Linked DNA regions of Homo sapiens: all the other regions are linked to region 2. Evidence: promoter capture Hi-C in human tissues and cell types (Jung and others, 2019). All regions are on one chromosome and are shown on one strand. The core of a region is centred on a gene start or on the middle of the fragment in contact, and the rest is flanking DNA. Distances in the headings are between cores, read along the strand shown.

The links. The method cuts DNA at HindIII sites, captures the fragments that hold promoters and counts their contacts. A contact is called where the count stands out against the background at its distance.
Region 1: a fragment that was not itself captured here is called in contact with the fragment with the promoter of STC2 in region 2 in 1 of the 25 tissues and cell types used here (H1 embryonic stem cells).
Region 3: a contact is called between a fragment that was not itself captured here and the fragment with the promoter of STC2 in region 2, in 2 of the 25 tissues and cell types used here (IMR-90 fibroblasts and aorta).

What each region holds. Positions count from the first base shown.
Region 1 is chr5:173,472,428-173,477,010 of GRCh38, forward strand. The region is part of intron 4 of LOC105377732 (a long non-coding RNA gene); the gene reads left to right. Among named protein-coding and RNA genes, the nearest start is that of LINC02995, 100 kb to the right of the region's middle. The HindIII fragment of the contact is 3,218 bases long and covers 830-4,047 here.
Region 2 is chr5:173,325,800-173,330,060 of GRCh38, forward strand. STC2 (stanniocalcin 2) reads right to left here and starts at 2,615. Exons shown (of 4, transcript NM_003714.3): 1 at 2,244-2,615; 2 at 69-211. The coding sequence starts at 2,394. It overlaps LOC124901137 (a long non-coding RNA gene), which reads left to right and starts at 2,800. Exons shown (of 2, transcript XR_007059056.1): 1 at 2,800-3,952. RefSeq lists a silencer at 3,809-4,028. The HindIII fragment of the contact is 8,569 bases long and covers 1-4,261 here.
Region 3 is chr5:173,455,668-173,459,898 of GRCh38, forward strand. The region is part of intron 3 of LOC105377732 (a long non-coding RNA gene); the gene reads left to right. Among named protein-coding and RNA genes, the nearest start is that of MIR8056, 110 kb to the left of the region's middle. RefSeq lists an enhancer at 1-309. The HindIII fragment of the contact is 6,989 bases long and covers 1-4,231 here.

The DNA of each region.
Region 1 (4,583 bases), core at 1,189-3,688, 150 kb after region 2:
TGACTCATGAATGGGCTCACATCCACGGAACAGCATGTGTCTCTCTGCAGTGAGCACAGTGCTTTGCTGTATGTTTGAACTAATTTCATAGTCTGGTCTCCACCACAGATGTTACTTGCCTTCTTTTCTGACGGTTGCTGTAAGCTTGTTGTATCAGAGAAAGCCAGAAAAGGAAAGAGCTATGATTCTTTGCACTGGGCAATTGAGCGTTTTGGAGACAGTGCTCTGGAGAGAAACTTAGGTTCAAGTTGAATTAAAAGTGAAGTCTTGGGTGTCTTTGTCAAAAGGCATTTACCTTAGTTGGCGGGTCAAAGAAAACTCTCAGGTCATGCATAATGGTTGTGGCTGCTGATGCCATCAGCTCTCTTTCTCTTGACATTCAGGGGAAAAGACAGCAGACTGTTTAAACAGCTCCTTGGATGTGGCAGGGTCAAGGCGGCACGGGAAATTGTGTGCAGAGGCAGCTGATTTGCCTCGTAGGTTATTATAAGAATGAAATTGGGCAATTTTATAGAGAATGAGAACCCCAGGAACACATACTTGGTTTCTAACATTCCAAAAGGAGGGAAGAATTACTGGCATCTAATCTGTCCCAAGGACACCCTGCCCTGTTGTTTTTTCCTCCTGCCTGGTACACATGCCTTGGCTGTGCTGAGCTTCAGCAATTTTTGAAGCTGTCATGGAGCAGGGTGGGCTCAGAGCCAGCCTTGCTTGTGCCACCTCAGACCTCTGCATCATTGCAGACCCTGGAACACCCACACCTCTTGGCTCCCTGGTGAACTCCTAGCCTACCATCAACAGCCATCAGAGACTGCAGTTTTTCCAGCAGGCCTCCTTGACTCCCCACTCCTTTGGTAGCTGCCTCTGGTCCCGGCACAGATTTCTGTTAGTGCTCTTACCACCTTGTGTTCTAATGTAAGAATAAGAATTTAAACTCCTCGGCAAGGTCTTTGCTTACTGCTCTGCCTCTTCAACTAGATGGTGGATTTCTGAGAGCAGTGACCTGGGCTGTCTTGCTCACTGTGTATTCTCAGCACCCAGGACATTTCCTGGCAGGCAGAAGGCACTTAGTAAACATTTGCTGAACGATCGAGTGAATAAATGAATAAATGAATGAATGACATCCACAGGCATTTTTGTGTGTGTATGATGAGACATATGAGGTTTCCAGGACACCAGAAACTCCTACAGTCATCCATTCTAGTATGTCACGACGTTGTCACTGGAAGGCCCTTTTAAAAATCACTTCTGTTACCTGTTATCATTCACCAATGCCTGTGCATGAATGAGGTTACAGGATTACAAGGTACCTGCGTAGATAGACCAGGTCTGCTTCTGTTTTGGGGTAAAAGTAGGGAAGTGTGCATGTGTGCGAGGCAATGGGTGAGTGAGAAAGATCTGAAGCTATGGGGTGTTTTTCAAAAGGAACCCTGAAGTCAGAGTGCCCTTGAAAGAGGAGGAGACTGGGAAAGGGAAGGCAAGAGGTCAAGGTTTTCTATTAGTCTTGAGCCCAAGCTTGGGGGGGACCTTAGACCTGCAGGGTCCCAGGTGAGTTCCTAGCCCTTGTTTCTGGCTTCTTAGACAAGAGAGTAATTCATTAACCCATCTTCCATTCATTTACGTGTTCATTCATTGGACTAAATCTCACTGACCATGTACAATGCACCAGAACACAGCAAAAAGCAAAACAAACACATTTCCTACCCTCATGGAACTTATATTCTTGTTAGGGAGAAATAGCCACAAAACAAATAAATCTACTACTATTCCAGATCATCATAAATGCCCTGAAGAAGAACGGAGCAGGACAAGGCAGTGGAGAGCCACAGGGGTTCTGTTTTTGATAGTGCGGGTTGACCAGAGAGGCTGGGGGTAGATACCTTGAGAAGGGGACAGCAGGCAGAAAATAAAGGAAGGGACCCTGATAGCTGAGCTGCTCATTGGTGGGAGACAAAGGCGTGGGATTCAATCCCAGCTCCATTGCTTTGGGCAAGCATATAGAATTGGGTCAAAGATGTTCTCTTTGAGAGTAATTCCTTTATTTGAGCTGAACAGGGGACTTTGACAGATAGGTGTACATTTTTGACTTGGAGTTCATTGCACCACTTCACCCCACTGAGCCCCACTTTACTCCTTTGTCAACTGGGAAGGCAATGAGGCCTCCTTCATAGGCTGTCTTGAAGGTTACATGAGATCCCATGTGTGACAATGGCCCTCGGTGATTTATGGAGAACCATGCTAAGGAGAGCTATTTACAGGTTCACCGCTTGTCAACCTGCAAAGGTATTAAAGTTCCACAAGCAGTCAGTGATTGTTGGCCAATGACTGCTGGGCCTGCTGAATCTTGGGTGCTGGTGGGGACCTTCCTTCATGCCTCTGCCACAGGACTCCCATTAGTCTAAACTTAGATTCCTACAGTCTAGAGGTTAAACGTGGTTAGTGCAGGGCTTGCTGAGTTTCAGCTGGTATATAAGAGCATCATAAAAATCCCTGGCATTTGTTCTGATTGGTTGGTGCCTGTGTAGTACCCGAGGTTAAAATTTCTTGACTCTCAGCCCTGTTAGGAGTATGGACTCTGGAGTCATAGGGCTGGAATGCAAATCTCAGCTCTATCGTTTACCAGCTGTGCAACTTGGGCAAGTTACTCTCTATTACTCTGTTTCCACATCGGTAAGTGGAAGTCATTGTTATGACTTACTATCTCTTAGGGCTGCTGGGAGAACTAATGAGTTAGGCAGTGGCACTGGAAGCAGTGCCTAGCGCACATGCCCATGTAAGTGTTTGCTATTCTTATTACTTTTGTTCCTCCCCCACTTCCACCGTGACTTCCTGTGGAGAAGAGGCCTGTTCTAGTCATCTCCTGGTTTCCAGTAGCTACATCAGGTTTGGCACAGGGCAGTCCCTCGGTAAGTGTGGGATGGATGGCTGAATAAATGGATGGCTGGAGCAGATTTTATTTCTCCTAAGCTTTAGAGTGGCGAAGAGAACTGTAGGGAACGCTGATGGCACAGCTTGGAAAAGGTGTGCAGTGCGGGGCAAGCTTCCCACCAAATCCCTCTCCTCCTGCAGGAACGCAGAATCTTCTTGGGGAAATTCTGTGTCTCTTCAGAGACATTTGGCTAAGTTCAGTCAATGCACCAGCAGTGAAAAAGCTGGTGTCTGGTAGTGCACACCCTCAATTTGGAAATATGATTTTAGAAATGTGAAATTGTGAACAAAGGAGGGGCATCTTAGAGCTGAGAAAGTGCACTGTTTACGGAGTGCTCACAACGCACCAGGCACCTCGGACACTTTCCTGATAGCCTTCACTTCACTCCTCAGTTTGCAGGGAAGAGACTGAGGAATGTTTTGGTTCACTGTCTTGCATAAGCCACACAGCTAATAAGGGCTCCTCCTGAGATTTGCACCTGGGTCTCTCAGGCTTTGGAACCCTACCCTTTTCACTGATTTTCACTGAGAATGTGTAGCTGCCTGTGACTGGGAGAGGGGTTCTCACAGGTTCATAGCTATCTGTATGCACAGGGTACAGTCTAATCTAAATATGAATAAGTTCACAATTGCTGCATTCTTGAATCATTTGACAGCTAAATGATTGACTCATTCAGGGGAAATTTCATTGCTAAAAAGTAGTATCAGTGGTATATACCCAAAAGAATTGAAAGTAAAGTCTCGGAGATAGATTTGCACACTCATGTTCATGGCAGCGTTATTCACAATGGCAAAGGGAGGAATCCACCAACTGTCCACCAACAGATGAATGGATAAACAAGACGTAGTGTATACATGCAGTGGAATATTATTCAGCTGCGAAAAAGAAGGAAATTCTGACCTATGCTATGAAATAGATGAAACTTGAGAGGATATTGTGCTAAGTGAAGTAAGCCAGACACAAAAAGACAAATACTGCATGATGCCACTTACATGATGTGCCTGGAATAGTCAAATTCAGACAGAAAATAGAATGGTGGTTGCCTGGGGCTGGGGGCAGTAAGGAATGGAAGTTATTTAATGGGTACAGAGTTTCAGTTTTGCAAGATGAAAAGAGTTCTGTGGGTGGATGGGGCTAATAATAGCACAACAATGTGCTCAGTGCCACTGCACTTAACACTTACAAATGGTTAAGATGGTAAATTTTATGTTATGTGTGTTTTACCACACACACAACAGAATAAATTCCAGCTGTGTGGGAGAAGTTTGATATCTTATGATGGGAAGGATTTGAACTTGGCTTTAAGGAACTTAGGCTTTTCCAAACTTTACCAGTTAATTGGCGGTGAGTGCGAGTCAGCTGTGGTTCTACTGGGTACCCTAAGTACGGTCAGTACTTCAGCAACTCGTGGGTTCTGGGACAACTTGAGTTGATAATCTCCCTCCCTGCCTTCCTTCATGTTTATCAAATGCCTACTGTGTACCATTCACCCTGCTAGACACTGGACATGAAAACACGTATTCTGTGCGCAAACATACTCATATTTTCTCCCATTTTTTCCTTCTTTCTTTCTTCCTTCCTTTCTTTCTTTCTTTTCCCTCCCTCCCTCCCTCCCTCCCTCCCTCCCTCTCTCTCTCTCTCTCTCTCTCTCTTT
Region 2 (4,261 bases), core at 1,365-3,864:
TTTCCAATGAACGTTTCAATCATGTATGCTCACCCCAAACATTCTTCATGCTCTGGATGGATTTTTACCTGGGCATCAAATTTTCCAGCGTTGTGCAGAAAAGTCATGCAAATCCCATGTAAGCCCCGAATCTCACAAGAGTTGTTCTCGAAACATTCAAACACGCCACACCCCACATCGCCAGCGTTGACCAAACAGTGCTGGATCTCCGCTAAAAGGAAAATCACATACAAATATATACAAAACTCTAACCCATGCTGGGCAATGCAGAGAGGTCATTTGAAATAAAAGTTAACAACTAAAGGAAAATTTAAGGAGGAAAAAAGACTTAGTAATGACTATTTCAGGACCTAAAAAGCCTGGGAAACAAAATTTCGTCCTTTAATCTACTCATGAAAAATATCTCTATTTGTAAATATTTGTAGAAAAGAGCCGAAAAATTACAAAAATTACAACCAGAAGGCTGGTCTGAGCATTCCTCCTTTTCATCCTTTCCATTTTATTAAAGTATTTGTGGGAATACTTAGTTTGAGAGCAAAATATATTTCCGCTTTTTAAACCCACAGACAAAAATAAAATTTTGAGTCGAAGACTGTACTTCATCAATGAAGTACCCTTCTCTACTTGATCTGTAGAAGTTGCTGCTATTAAATCACAGCCATTTGCTTCCTGACCCCCAAATGACAGCATCTAAAAAGCAGTTTCAATTCAGCTTTATGATTCAACACCTAAAAATCAAAACAAAATTCCTATTAAGGCAGTGCCTCCCAACCCTTCGCATTAAAATACCAGCTAGGGAAGCTGCGGTTGGCGAGCAGGCTTAGGAGTGGAGTCAGCTGGGGGCGAGCCTTCAGAAACGCCACTATCAGAGGTTGCAGGCTCCTTTTAATTAGGGATCCGGGTGAGGTATCACCCAATCCCCTAGAATTCCCGCAGCCCGGGAGGAAGCTTGCAGCCCTTCACCGAATGTGGCCCCCAGTCCTCTCTCGGAAGGGGCAGACGGAGGGAGTTAACTGTCAGGCTGCAGCGTGCAAAGCCTCTTCCCTCCCTTTCCACTACCCAAGTCTCTGATTTAAATCAACCACAAAATTACATCAGAAAAGTATATTTTGGAAGAAGGGCGGGGTCGGAGCAGATAACCCGCATCAGATTAAATCTAGCCAGAGAATGAGGGGCGTGTATTGTTGAGGGTCACCGACCACCGAGAATCAGGTTCAGTTCTCAGAGGAAGCGCCAGAGGAGGGGGAGGGTGGGCGAGGGTCTCGGGGTGGTGGGGGTGCCGGCCCCAGCATGTGGAGGCGACAGGATCCGTAAGACCCCACGCGCCGCCGGGGCAGGACCGCACAGGGCCGCCATTCACTCACTTGGGGCGTCCCTAATGGGCACTCGTGCATTCCAGCTCGTGCGGTGAGCGCACGCACGCCGCCGCTGCCGCGTTCACACGGCCCCCCAAAGTCGGGGGAGGGGTCGTGGAGCGAAGGAGCTGTAGGCAGATTTTCTTTCTCTTTCCGAGCTGGGAAAAGGGCCAGCCCCGTGCCCTGCACGCCTGGCTCTGCTTTGCAGCTTGCCGGTGAGCCAAGAGCCGGTAGAGCAGAGGAGGCGCACGGTTCGGGTCGTGTCACCATTTCTTGGCTTGCTGACCTGGCCAGGAGCTGGGGATGGCGGCAGCACCGCGGAGGTACGCTTTGCGCTGCCCTCACGCTCCCTTCCGAAAGCAGTGCCCCCAGGGGGAAAGTTCGCAATGCCATTTGTCTCGCCGGCAAAGTTCTGGGATGTCGGGCATCTTTTGAGGAGGGGGAAGACGCGGCACCCTTACTGAGGCCGGCAGGCCAGGAAGAGAAGTTCTCCGGGCGCAGGGCGCAGCCCAGCTCCGGGGACCCTCTGGGCCTCCCGCGTGCCGGCCGGGATGAAGCGCGCTTTGCACCGGACCCGGGATTCGGGGGCGGGGGCTGGCGCTGGCAGCGTCAGACGCTGCTTCATTTCCCCTCGACCCTGGGGAGGACAGCAACAAGTCCTGCCCCAGCCATTTCATCACCCTGCTAGCACGTGCAGATTCCGGGCCCTCGGAGCCCGGCGCGGACCTCGCCTTGCCTCGCGCTTCCCTTTGCACGTCCCGTGCCATCCCAAGAGTTTGCGTGGCCCTGGGTGGGCGCCTGGCTCCCGGCGAAACGCCTGGGGCGCGCCGCGTGGGTGCACGGTGTCCTCTCCCAGTAGCTCCCGGCTGCGGGGGCACATGCACTTACCTGTATTCTGCAGGGACAGGCGGCCTTTCTGCTGGGAGCTCCTGTCTTGGGGACCCTCGGGTGGGTTGGTGGCGTCGGTCCCCCGCGCCGGGTCAAAGGTGGCCAACACCAAAGCCAGGGTCATGAACTGGCCCAGCCGCTCGGCACACATGGTTCTTGGTATTAACCTCCCGTCGGGAGACCTGGATCCTTTGTGCTCCCCTCTTCCTCCTCCTCCTCTTCCTCCTTCGCCGCTTCCCCTCCTCCTCCCACTCTTCCTTTTTGCTCGCCTTTTCCCTCCTCCTCGCGGCCGCGGCTCGGATAGAGGTTACCCAGCGCCCTCCCGTAGCTCTCCGGAGAGCATGTGACCAGGCCGTTAGCAGCGCCGCGAGTGCCCGGCAATGGCAGGGATGGTGCCTCAAATATCCCTGGAAGCTCTGGTGTCACTTGAATGAAGGAGTCGAGCAGGTGTTGTCCCGGCGGCTGGACCAATCCGAGACCCCGGCCCTTTTGACAACACGGCCGGGAGGCGGGGCCTGCGCTCAACTACTACAGGAGGAAGCCGAGCGCCGCTGGGAGCGCCGGACAAAGTTGCCGACCTGGCGGCGGCCACGCGTTTGCGTGCGTGTGTATGAGTGTGTGTGAGCGCGGCCGGAGATGCGTGCGCGTGTGCGGGTGCTCCAGGGCAATGGTCGAAAGGACTGTACAATATAAGAGCGAATCCAAGCTCCAGTTGCTGTTAAAGGGGGACGGTGTGCTCTGGGACAGTGTCCCTGGGGCCCCTGGCTCGCGTCACACCCACATCGGGTTGGGAAAGTTTCCTCTTTCCGCCGTTTGGAATTCAGTGAGATTCCCAGCCCAGAGGACTTGATAAATTGAAGCAGTTTCCTAGGCACAATGATGCTGTGGGCCAACTGAGCACACATGGGAATTCCTGGCCTTGTGACACTTTGCATTAAAAAGAACCCCACGATTGAAGATAGGAGCAGAAGCACTAGATACAGTATTTGGTCTGAGCAACTGCCCTATCTTCCCGCTTTGGTGGGCCGTGCAACACCTGGAGTGTCGTTTCTCGTCTTTCCCCTAATCCAGACGCATTCCAGGCTGGGCTGCAGGGATCCAGGTGACAGTCAGGACTTGCATCATTTCCAGGAGGGTGGCAGGGAGGCCCAAGGCAGCCCTGAGTCAGCCCGCCGCGGAGCATCGCGTGCCCGGAGGCCAGAGCTTGAAAGGCAACTTTACGCGTCTCCAAACACACTCCTGCATTTTCTCAAAGCGCTGCTCGCCACCCCGCTCCGGGTTCCCTTTTACTCTCCAGTCATCCGATGGAAGTGGTGAGAACAAAAACAAAGACAAAAAAGCTAAATCCGGGGAAGTTATCTCCATCTCCTCCCTTTTCTTGTTCGGCCCCCTCCCCAAGAACCGCCGGGTCGGGATAGCCCCCGGCTACTTTCTCACCCGGCCCGTGGAGGGAAGGAGAAAGTTGGGCGCCGCTTGGAGCGCCTCTTCCCCTGCTGTGTGTGTACGTGTGCACGCTCACGTCTCCCCCGCGCCGGGGCCGGGGACAGGAACTGCTCTCGGTCCCGTCACCCCACGGCGCAGCTCGGGGGGCTCGCAGGGCTGGGGGAGGGCGGGGACACGAGCGCCGCGCCCAAGCGCCCCAGGGCACGCACCCGGCGTTGGCGCGCACTCGCCCCTCCCCCCGTCCCCACCCTCCTCCTGGAGAACAGGTGAGCCCCGGTACCAGCTCTCGATCCCCCACCCCCGCCCCGCGCCCCGCCCGCGCCCTCTGCGGTAATGCGCCTGGGAAGTTTCATCACCCACTGCCCAGGCGACGCGGCCCTGGGTCTCCGCGGCGGGGCGCACTGCCCGCCTGGTTGGGGCCGCCATGTGACACGGCTGGGGGAGGGGGCGAGGAGACACGCGGGCAGGTCATCTTTTGGCCGGCGCTTGACTTCCAAAGCTTTCCTTTCCCGTGTCCCGGCTGCACGCGGGAGTGGGGAAGGCGGAGGCGGGGGGCCAGGATGGCCACGGCTGGC
Region 3 (4,231 bases), core at 384-2,883, 130 kb after region 2:
AACCCCAAGTAGAAAGTTTTAAGTATGTACCCCTCCACACGCAATATAAAACAAAATAGAAATTAAAAGAAAATAAAAATATCTAGAAGTGTGCAAGACCAGTGATGGTCAGGTTCCCTTTCTTGGACATACACACTCCCGCTTGGAGGCCTTAATGGAGGGTGTGCCTCTTGTTTCAGATATAGAAACAGGTCACTTTGACCTACAATATACAACCCCAATGTTTTCACTTGGTGCTTGATTTGTGGCAGGATTTAAATTTCCACCCACTTTTTGGACTAAAAGTTGTTTTTGTAATTGAAATGTATGCTTATCATAAAAGTATAAATACTATAGAGGAATATATGAAGTAAAAGATGAATCCCTTTTGTCTCCCAGCAATGCCATGGGTTGAATTGTGTCCCCTACTCAAGTTCATATGTTGACGTCCTAACCCCCCTGAACCTCAGAATGTGACCTTATTTGGAGATAGGGTCTTTACAGAGGTCATCAAGTTAAAATAAGGTCATTAAGATGAGCCCTAATCCTGTATGACTGATATTCTTATCGAAACGGGAAATTTGGACACAGAGACTTACATAGAGGGAAGACAGTGTAAAGAGACATAGGAAGAAGATGGCCATGTACAAGCCAAAGAGAGCGGAGTGGAACAGATTCCCCCCTCAGGGTTCCCGGAAGGAGCCACCCCTGCCAACACATTGATCTCAGACTTCAAGTTTTCAGAGCTGCTAGAAAATATGTTTCAGCTGTTTAAGCCATTCAATGTGTGGTACTTTATTATGGCAGCCCTAACAAACTAACATAAGTAATTTCTTGTGTCCCTCCAAAAAAAGAGTCTGACTATACCCATATTTGTGTATATGATTTTCTTCCTTACATAAATGAATCATTTACTAATACTTTTCTACACCAGGAATTCTTCACTTTCTAATTTATTGTGCTAATCTTTTCACAGTAGCCTGTGCAGGTGTATTTAATTCCTCTTAACAGCTGCATAGTATTCTGCAGTTGGGAGAAACTACACTTGATTTGCCCACTGTCCTTTTAATGGACAAGTTGCGTGCTTTCCATAATCCCCTGAGTTCATCAAATGCCTGAGCCTTAAGTACAGCAGGGTTGGTGAAGGATCTACACACAGCAAATGTTCAAGACCCACAGACAGAGAGGAGTGAAGCACAAAATAAATGTCTATTTTATATGCTACTTTGTGAACACTTCCTGTGACTCATCTGTTAGAGCTCAGCTGAGAGCCCCTCTTGTGGGTTCTCAGGGCACCTGCTTCCCTCCTTCCTTGCCCTTAGCACAGTTGCGGTTTTCCACTGGTTGGTGTCACTTTCCGAATCATGTCTGTCTCCTTCCCCAGACCCTCTGGCATTGCTCTTGGCTGTGACTCTGGCACTTGGCACATCGTGCTCAATCAGAGTAGGTTCTCAACAACTGTTTATCAATGGAGGGAATCTTTGTAAGCTGTAAAATATCAGAGAAATGCATGACGGAATCGATGCAAAGAGGAAGCAACTCCCCAGGAATGTGGGAGCAGCATCATTTCAGATCATGTGAACTTCCTTGAGGTCAAAGGTTTTATGAGACCCTTCCCTACCTCTGTCATTTGTCACTTTGCCTTCTGCTACTGTGGACCTTTCAGAATTTGCAGCAGCCGATCCTCTCTCTTCCTGTGCTGGATTGACTCAATGTACCATTGAGGGAATGAGTTCAGTGTACATTTTAGAAACCAGGCCATCAGTTACAGTAAGTAACAGCCAGAGTTGTTTAAGGTGAGCATAGACATTGGGGAAAGTGGGGTTAAGAACCATCATGGCCAGGGCAAACACTGGGAATCAAGAAACCAATTCACTAGGCATGGGACTTGGGCAACTTATTTCATAAGAATAAGAAGGCAACAACCGTAAGAGCTGCTGGAATTTACCAAGCCCTTGTCCTGTGGCAGGCACTGCATTTGGCACACAGCTTAACTCTCGCAGCAACCTTGTAAGAGAGACACTGTTCCTATCCACTGCGCTGTGAAAAGAAGCCAAGTGTAGAGGGGCTGAGAGACAGCTCCATGGTCCTGCAACTCGTGAGTGGCAGAGCCAGGTTTTCAAGCGAGATTTGCCCAGTTCATATTTCTTAACCACTGCATGATCCCTCTGGGACCTCTGTTTCCTTTTTGGAAAAGGGGAGGATGGGGCTAATCACTTAGGATCTTTGGGCCCCTGTAACTTAGCCTTAGAATATCTCTCTTAAAAGAACTTTGGCCTTTTGTAGTAAGTTGTTTAGACACCAAGGATCATTTATCTTCGAAGTGAAGGAAGCCCATCTCTTAACTATTAAAAGACCAAACTTGGTACAACATGAGAAAGTTATAGTAGTGACTGTTACAATAAGAGTAACAGTAAAAGTCAAAACCATAATGAGATATTGCCTCACACCCATTAGGGTGGCTACTGTCAAAAACCCAGAAAATAACTAGTGTTGGTAAGCATGTAGAAAAACTGGAATCTCTGTGCACTGCTGGTGGGAGTGTAAAATGCCACTGTGGAAAAAAGCATGGAGGTTTTTCAAAAAAAATTATACATAGAATTACTGTGTGATAGGCCGGGTGCAATGGCTCACGCCTGTAATCCCAGCACTTTGGGAGGCCGAGGCAGGCAGATCATGAGGTCAAGAGATGGAGACCAGCCTGACCAACATGGTGAAACCCTGTCTCTACTAAAAATACAAAAATTTGCTGGACGTGGTGGCGCATGCCTGTAGTCCCAGCTACTTGGGAGACTGAGGCAGGAGAATTGCTTGAACCTGGGAGATGGAGGTTGCAGTGACCCGAGACTGCGCCACTGCACTCCAGCCTGGGTGACAGAGTGAGACTCTATCTCAAAAAAAAAAAAAAAAAAAAAAAAAAGAATTACTGTGTTATTGCTATTCTACTTTTGGGAATATGCCCAAAATAATTGGAAGCATGGTCTTGAAGAGATATTTGTACACCTCTGTTCACAGCAGCATTATTCGCAATAGCCAAAAGGTGGAAGCAACCAAGTGTCCGTCGATAGATGAATGAATAAGCAAAATATGCTATAGACATACAATGGAATATTATTCGGCCTTAAAAAGGAAGAAAATTCTGACACATACTACAACATAGATGAATCTTGAGGACATTGTGCTATGTGAAATAAGTCAGATGCAAAAGGACAAATACTGTCTAATTCCACTTATAGGAGGGCCTCTAGAGTAGCCAAATTCATAGAGACAGAAGTAGAATGGTAGTTGCCGGGGACTGGGAGGAGGAGGAAATGGGGGAGTATTGTTTAATGGATATAGAGTTTCAGTTTTGCAAGATGAAACATTTTCTGGGGATGGATGGTGGTGATGGTTGCACAACAGTATGACTGTACTTAATGCTACTGGACTGTACACTTCAAAATGGTTAAGAGGTTCAATTTTATGATATGTGCATTTCACCCCAATTATTTAAAAAAGGAACAACAGTGAAGGCTGTGACTTCATTAGAATCAGCATTGCCAGTCTGGAGAGCCAGGATGCACCCCTGGCGTGTCAGCAGCATCTCTGTGGGGGAAGCTCAGTCCAGTCTTGGTGGCTCTCTGAGGGAGCCCTGGGTTGGGACTGTGTCTCAATCGGCCATGACAGCTGAGCAGGGGAGCACTGCCTTCGTGCCTGACGTGAGCCCTGCGACATCTGCCCTGGACATATCATTTCAGGAGCATGAGGACTCCAAGTGGGGATCCCTGACAGCTGGGGATGGGGTGGCCGGAAGAAGAGGCTGCTTTTCAGATGGCCCTCAGACAGCAGCCGATGGCATTTGGCCAGATGCGTGCATTTGTGCTATTGCTTTGGAACACGTTGGAGGGAAGAGGGCCCTCTGTGACAAGATAATTTTTTTGGGAAGGGGGATGAGCTGATTTGTTTTTAACTTTGTAAAGTTCAGAAATACCCAATTTAACTTTGTCATATCTCTGAATCCTGAGAGAGGCAGAGAAATGAGGGAGTGACATGCTCATTTTTTCCCAAGAAAAATGAAAGGTTAACCACTTGCTGAGACTATAATAAGAGCGTGGGTAATAAATACATGCTATGCAATATTCCTGACCAACAATGATGGGCTTTGCTACTCTAAAATGTTTGGAATCACTGGCCTAACAAAATGGCAGAGGCCAGCAACAGAAATGCCAGTGGAGGAGCATGAAAATTCTATGCCTTTTCTTCACATTAAATT